Linked DNA regions of Homo sapiens: region 2 is linked to region 1. Evidence: promoter capture Hi-C in human tissues and cell types (Jung and others, 2019). All regions are on one chromosome and are shown on one strand. Each heading gives the region's core, a stretch centred on a gene start or on the middle of the fragment in contact. The rest is flanking DNA. Distances are from core to core; before and after follow the strand shown. Region 1 holds the start of BCL2 (BCL2 apoptosis regulator). Region 2 overlaps BCL2 (BCL2 apoptosis regulator).

Region 1 (3,434 bases), core at 695-3,194:
TGGGAGGCAGAGGTTGCAGTGAGCTGAGATCGCACCACTGCACACCAGCCTCCAAGATACAACAGAGCAAGACTCTGTCTCAAAAAAAAAAAAAAAGTCATAGCATATTTGTACACATTGTAGTACTCATTTGTCATCTTTCTTGACCCCAATAATCCAGTGTCCCTATATATTTGCACTCGAGCCCTATTAAGTAAGCCGCTGTGCTTCTAGAAGACCTTTTTCTTTTCTTGGTGCTTTGTCAAAGACTCTTGGAGATAAAAATACACACGTGCAACTTGTTTGTCCTCTTGTCCTTTTTTGCTAGGGGCTATTCATGCTGATTAATTTAAAACTGTCTGCTTGCGCGTACACACGTCTGCGAGTGTGAATGTGTATGTGTGTATCTATGTACCTCATTTGAGAAAGTGCGGCCAACTAGGATTGGCTACGAGGCAAAGGTGGAGACCTTTAGGAGCCCACCCACCCCAGCGTTAGGACGGTGGGCCTGAAAGTTACTATATGGAAGTCCTCATCGTGTAGCACTAAACCAGTGTAAAAGGTGTTAGGGACAGAGGGAAAACATTGACTTAAACTGTCGTAAAGCCCTTGATAAACCCCTTCCCTGGAGCGCTGAGTTCTGCATGGCCTGGGCCACGGACTAGGTGTTCAGGTGGACACGGGCGGGGATGCGCGTGCGTGTGTAGTGCGCGGACACCTAGGAAGCTACTTGAAAGTAAACACCACGCTCGGGGCGTCCCTAGACATTGCTTAAAACGTGCAGAGTCACCTGTCTTCACAGCAGGGCAGCGCTGAGGTCCCACTGCTGGGGGCGGTGGGGGGCGGCATTGGCCTGGGTCTTCCCCCGGCGGCCGAGCGCCGGTAACACAACGTGTGTGTGTGTAGGCGCGTGTACACACTCTCATACACGGCTAGAAAGGGTCCAGGCGACACACACACTCCCACATACACGGCTAGAAAAGGTCCAGGCGAGACACACACACACACACACACACACACACACACTCCACACACACTCACACGGCCAGAAAGGGTCCAGGCGGTTCCCGGCGCTTTTCCAGCCCTTGTTTTCATGGCGCACCCTCCCGCCAGCCGCCCCCCTCCGCACTCCGTCGTCCGCCCGGCCCGGCCGCGTGCGGTTCCCCGGGAGCCCCCACCCCGTCGCGGACCCCAGCGACCACCAAGTCCGCACGCGGCCTGCCGCAGGCCTGAGCAGAAGGCCCCGCGCACACCCACCGCGCCGCGGCCGCGCGGGAGGCCTGTGCCGCCCGCGCCACCCACTGGCCGGGCCCCGCGGGCGCAGCGGAGCGGGCGGGTGGCCGGCCCGGACGCGCCCTCCCCGGCCGCGGCCCCGCGCGCCATGTGCCCCCGGCGGGACGCGCCACTCCCGGGCCTGCCGCGGCGCCTTTAACCCGGGCCAGGGAGCGGGGCGGAGGGGGCGGTCGGGTGGCTCAGAGGAGGGCTCTTTCTTTCTTCTTTTTTTGAATGAACCGTGTGACGTTACGCACAGGAAACCGGTCGGGCTGTGCAGAGAATGAAGTAAGAGGACAGGCACCACAGCCCCGCTCCCGCCCCCTTCCTCCCGCGCCCGCCCCTCCGCGCCGCCTGCCCGCCCGCCCGCCGCGCTCCCGCCCGCCGCTCTCCGTGGCCCCGCCGCGCTGCCGCCGCCGCCGCTGCCAGCGAAGGTGCCGGGGCTCCGGGCCCTCCCTGCCGGCGGCCGTCAGCGCTCGGAGCGGGCTGCGCGGCGGGAGCTCCGGGAGGCGGCCGTAGCCAGCGCCGCCGCGCAGGACCAGGAGGAGGAGAAAGGGTGCGCAGCCCGGAGGCGGGGTGCGCCGGTGGGGTGCAGCGGAAGAGGGGGTCCAGGGGGGAGAACTTCGTAGCAGTCATCCTTTTTAGGAAAAGAGGGAAAAAATAAAACCCTCCCCCACCACCTCCTTCTCCCCACCCCTCGCCGCACCACACACAGCGCGGGCTTCTAGCGCTCGGCACCGGCGGGCCAGGCGCGTCCTGCCTTCATTTATCCAGCAGCTTTTCGGAAAATGCATTTGCTGTTCGGAGTTTAATCAGAAGAGGATTCCTGCCTCCGTCCCCGGCTCCTTCATCGTCCCCTCTCCCCTGTCTCTCTCCTGGGGAGGCGTGAAGCGGTCCCGTGGATAGAGATTCATGCCTGTGCCCGCGCGTGTGTGCGCGCGTGTAAATTGCCGAGAAGGGGAAAACATCACAGGACTTCTGCGAATACCGGACTGAAAATTGTAATTCATCTGCCGCCGCCGCTGCCTTTTTTTTTTCTCGAGCTCTTGAGATCTCCGGTTGGGATTCCTGCGGATTGACATTTCTGTGAAGCAGAAGTCTGGGAATCGATCTGGAAATCCTCCTAATTTTTACTCCCTCTCCCCGCGACTCCTGATTCATTGGGAAGTTTCAAATCAGCTATAACTGGAGAGTGCTGAAGATTGATGGGATCGTTGCCTTATGCATTTGTTTTGGTTTTACAAAAAGGAAACTTGACAGAGGATCATGCTGTACTTAAAAAATACAAGTAAGTTCTCTGCACAGGAAATTGGTTTAATGTAACTTTCAATGGAAACCTTTGAGATTTTTTACTTAAAGTGCATTCGAGTAAATTTAATTTCCAGGCAGCTTAATACATTCTTTTTAGCCGTGTTACTTGTAGTGTGTATGCCCTGCTTTCACTCAGTGTGTACAGGGAAACGCACCTGATTTTTTACTTATTAGTTTGTTTTTTCTTTAACCTTTCAGCATCACAGAGGAAGTAGACTGATATTAACAATACTTACTAATAATAACGTGCCTCATGAAATAAAGATCCGAAAGGAATTGGAATAAAAATTTCCTGCATCTCATGCCAAGGGGGAAACACCAGAATCAAGTGTTCCGCGTGATTGAAGACACCCCCTCGTCCAAGAATGCAAAGCACATCCAATAAAATAGCTGGATTATAACTCCTCTTCTTTCTCTGGGGGCCGTGGGGTGGGAGCTGGGGCGAGAGGTGCCGTTGGCCCCCGTTGCTTTTCCTCTGGGAAGGATGGCGCACGCTGGGAGAACAGGGTACGATAACCGGGAGATAGTGATGAAGTACATCCATTATAAGCTGTCGCAGAGGGGCTACGAGTGGGATGCGGGAGATGTGGGCGCCGCGCCCCCGGGGGCCGCCCCCGCACCGGGCATCTTCTCCTCCCAGCCCGGGCACACGCCCCATCCAGCCGCATCCCGGGACCCGGTCGCCAGGACCTCGCCGCTGCAGACCCCGGCTGCCCCCGGCGCCGCCGCGGGGCCTGCGCTCAGCCCGGTGCCACCTGTGGTCCACCTGACCCTCCGCCAGGCCGGCGACGACTTCTCCCGCCGCTACCGCCGCGACTTCGCCGAGATGTCCAGCCAGCTGCACCTGACGCCCTTCACCGCGCGGGGACGCT
Region 2 (3,434 bases), core at 316-2,815, 33 kb after region 1:
ACAACTGCTTTTCAAAGCTTGATTTGTATTGTTTTTAATAAGGAAGGAAAAGCTTTGTTATATAAACACATGAAAATATGGTAGTGTTCGTGGCAAGTATGTTAATGGATAATGTGCCTAAAATCTTTGCTGGGTCAGTGTCATTCCCTCTTTGTGATGCTGAAGGAAAGTCACAAAACAAAAACAACTCAGAAGAAGCTAATGTGTCATCTTCATGTAGGGATCTGTATTCAAAGTTCTTTTTCATTGTAGCTGTAATGAAACAGTATTTGTGGAAAGATATTGCACTCAATGCCAAAACCCAACAATTTTGTTTTCAAATTCCTAAAAACTAAAAAAAGAAATCTTGGTGACATAAATGTTCCAAAATCAAAATGTCCAAAATGAACTCATCAACTTCCTCCTCTCGCCTGCTCATCTATGTCTGTTCTGTCTGCTTAATGATATCACTGTCCACCCAGACAGAGCCCCAAACTCTTAAATCATTTTCAACTTGGTTTTCTCATCTGTGAGATAGAGCTTTCCTGGATCATCTCTTAAGATTCTTTCCAGCCCTGAAAGTCTGCATATCTGAGTTCTTCACTCATACTCCCCACATATCTGAATCCTGCTTCTAAAAGTCTCTCTTCCCTAGATCTCTGGTTTTTAGGTTTTTAAAATTATTTTATTATTTTTTTATCCTGCTGCTGCTGCTGCTCTAATTCAACCTCTCATTCCTTCTTGCATATGCTGTAACCTCCTAGCCAGTCTTCCTGTCATTTCAAAAATTATTCTTAAGTTTACCTACAGTAAAATTCATCATTTTTGTGTAGCTTTGTGGGTTTTGATAAATGAACAGAGAGGTAACCACTACTCTAATCAGTATACAGAACAGGTCAGTCACCCCCCAAACATATTTCATGATGAGAGTTTGTACTCAAACTGCCCGCCACCCCCTAACCCTTAGCCCTGGCAACTTCTCTTCTCTTCTATATCCCTAGAGTTTTGTATTTTCCAAAATGTCATAGATTGGTATCCTTCTCTTTCAGCACCTGTTCCCAGCCCATCCATCCTCTTCGTCAATGCCATTTATCTTCCTAAAACATCTCTGTTGAGCACCTTGAGAAACACTTAGTTTCTCCAAGCTTCAGTTTCCTTGTTAGAATGTGACCCAGCCAGAGTATAAAATAAGGAGCATACAGAATTCTAATACTTTCTAAGGAGGTTGGTTCCTGAGGAGGACCCTTCATCTTGCTAACTGGGGCAACTGATGGGCAGATCAGAGAAGCAGGAAGTCACTCTGAGTAAGAAATGGTGGCCTAGAGCTCTTGTGAGAAAAGGGATCCAAGAAGGGGGTAGTAGAGAGAGAAGTGAGAGACGGAGAAAAGAGAACAACTGCCACAAGAAGCAAAACGCTGGAGAGGGACAGATGTCTACAGAAGATGTTTTGGGACAGTTTTGCTGTTGAATGAGTGCCAGTATCCTTCCATAGTGGCCTCGGGAGACCTGTAGTTCAGACCCGTGTTGTAGGAGGTGTCTTTTGAATGGGTCTTATTTTGAGGAGGGACCCAGGAGACCCAGATCTGCAATGGGGATAATGACATCTGCTCCATGCAATCATCATGTGGGGATCATGGGGTAGCAAGATAGGACCCTGCCTGGCAGAGATTGGGCACCAAGGACTCCCTTCCCACCATCCTGTGCCATCTCTGCCTTCTCTCCTTACTTCTTGCCTCTCACCTGGAAACTGCCGCAAACCAAATCCTCCTACCTCCCCTTCAATGACCTTCAGAATGCCAGCCCTGAAGGTTGGCTCAGAGGTCATTGTATACCAAGCTACAGAGTTTGGTGTACAGCTGACCTTCAGGGCTGGCACCAGCCCACTTTCCAGTCTACCTCCCATTAAAGTTCTCTGTCCTCCTTACTTTCTGCTCCCAATCCTCGCCCCTACTCCTGCCCTAATCTTACGTCCCAGCTACGTTCAACTCCTTTGTTGAACCCTCCTGCCTCCCCTTCAATGAAAATTAACCTATCCTTTGTCTACATTCATTTCATGTTTATTCATTTTGTGTCTACATCCATTTTCTGTGTATATATACAATAGGTTTTGTATCATAATTATTCATGTCTGTTTGGACACCCCTGCCCCCAACTGTGTAAAAGGTGCTCAATTCATATTTGGTTAAATGAAATGAATTCCTAAATAATCACAGCAAGTTTGAACCTAGTGAAGGAAGTGTTAAGGCATTTCTTTTACATTATGCTCTCATTTTAATGTACAAGTAGCATGCCAGCTATGGGGCAGGTTTTACTCTTCCAGATTTCTTGTGGTTGTCAATGCATCAGGCAGCCTGTTTCCAAACAGCTGCCATATGGCCAAAGCTCCTCAAGTGACCCTTTTATGTGTATAAGAGCAGGACATAGTTCAGATATACCCAGGAGAAGTAAGGGCATTGAAAACCTCCCAGGCTGCTGTTGCAGAAAGGACAGGGAGAATGCCACTACCTGGAGGTGGGAAACTGGACGTTGCTATACCTGCCCCTCCATCACCATCACATAGTTTGTGTGCTGTCAAATTTAAGTTGCCAACACAAGCCATGGACCACAAAGACATGCTTGCTAAATCAAGTTGAGTGAGATGCACTTCTAGTACTTTCCAAACCCATGCTGAGATGCAGAACCCCCAGCCCCATGCAGACAGATTTGCCCTGCATGGAAACGGTGCACCCTCTCCCGCTACACACTCAGAGATGAGAGATGAGCCTGTTTGTGAAACCAAACTCAGGATTCTGTTTTTGTGTAAGAACCGTACCACATGGCTGACATATGTTCAGTCCATGGCTGGCAGAAGCCTCCTGAACACATCCCCCATCCAGTACCTCCCCGGCAGTGACCCATCTCATATTTGCATATGTTCCCCTGTCACAAGATTGTGGGGAGGGTGCAGTTTGCAGCTGACTCCTTACCTAGCTACAGCTCCAACTAAGGGCGTGCATTCTTGGGGAGATGTTGGGAGCATCACAAGGTCCCCTTCCGTTCCCAGAACTCAGTTTCAGAGGTCAGCCAGAAAGAGAATTCCAGAGGTCAGCCAGAGAGAGAAGGTAGCAAGGACAGAGCCCCTACTGACATTTTTCTTCCCACCCATCCCATCTCCAGGGCAATGGTCTTCAGCAGGGAACAACGGGCCCTCATTCCCTGCCAGGGGAGCTGAGTACACACAAACTGCTGGATGGGCGAGAAGTTCCCCCAGTGATCTTTATTTTTCCGTTTAGAAAGAATCCTTATTCCAGCCCCTTCTCTCCAGCTGCTGCGTGTGAGCCTGTCTCTGTCTCTTGGGTGGTGCAGCTGCAGGTGAGCCAGCTGTGGGCGGCCCTGAAGGACAGCGAGGTAGGGAGCCTGGTTGTGAGGTCTCTGCTCCCTGGGGATGCTCTGCAGCCTTTTGCCTGCAGCAAGTC

What was found. Contacts are between HindIII fragments. The study calls those that stand out against the background at their distance.
Region 2: a contact is called between a fragment that was not itself captured here and the fragment with the promoter of BCL2 in region 1, in 1 of the 25 tissues and cell types used here (hippocampus).

Annotation. Positions count from the first base shown.
Region 1 is chr18:63,318,279-63,321,712 of GRCh38, reverse strand. BCL2 (BCL2 apoptosis regulator) reads left to right here and starts at 1,944. Exons shown (of 3, transcript NM_000633.3): 1 at 1,944-2,539; 2 at 2,761-3,434. The coding sequence starts at 3,047. RefSeq lists an enhancer at 87-176 and silencers at 1,068-1,137, 1,168-1,377, 1,538-1,727, 3,083-3,322. The HindIII fragment of the contact is 10,586 bases long and covers 1-3,434 here.
Region 2 is chr18:63,284,995-63,288,428 of GRCh38, reverse strand. The region is part of intron 2 of BCL2 (BCL2 apoptosis regulator); the gene reads left to right. Among named protein-coding and RNA genes, the nearest start is that of BCL2, 33 kb to the left of the region's middle. The HindIII fragment of the contact is 3,059 bases long and covers 36-3,094 here.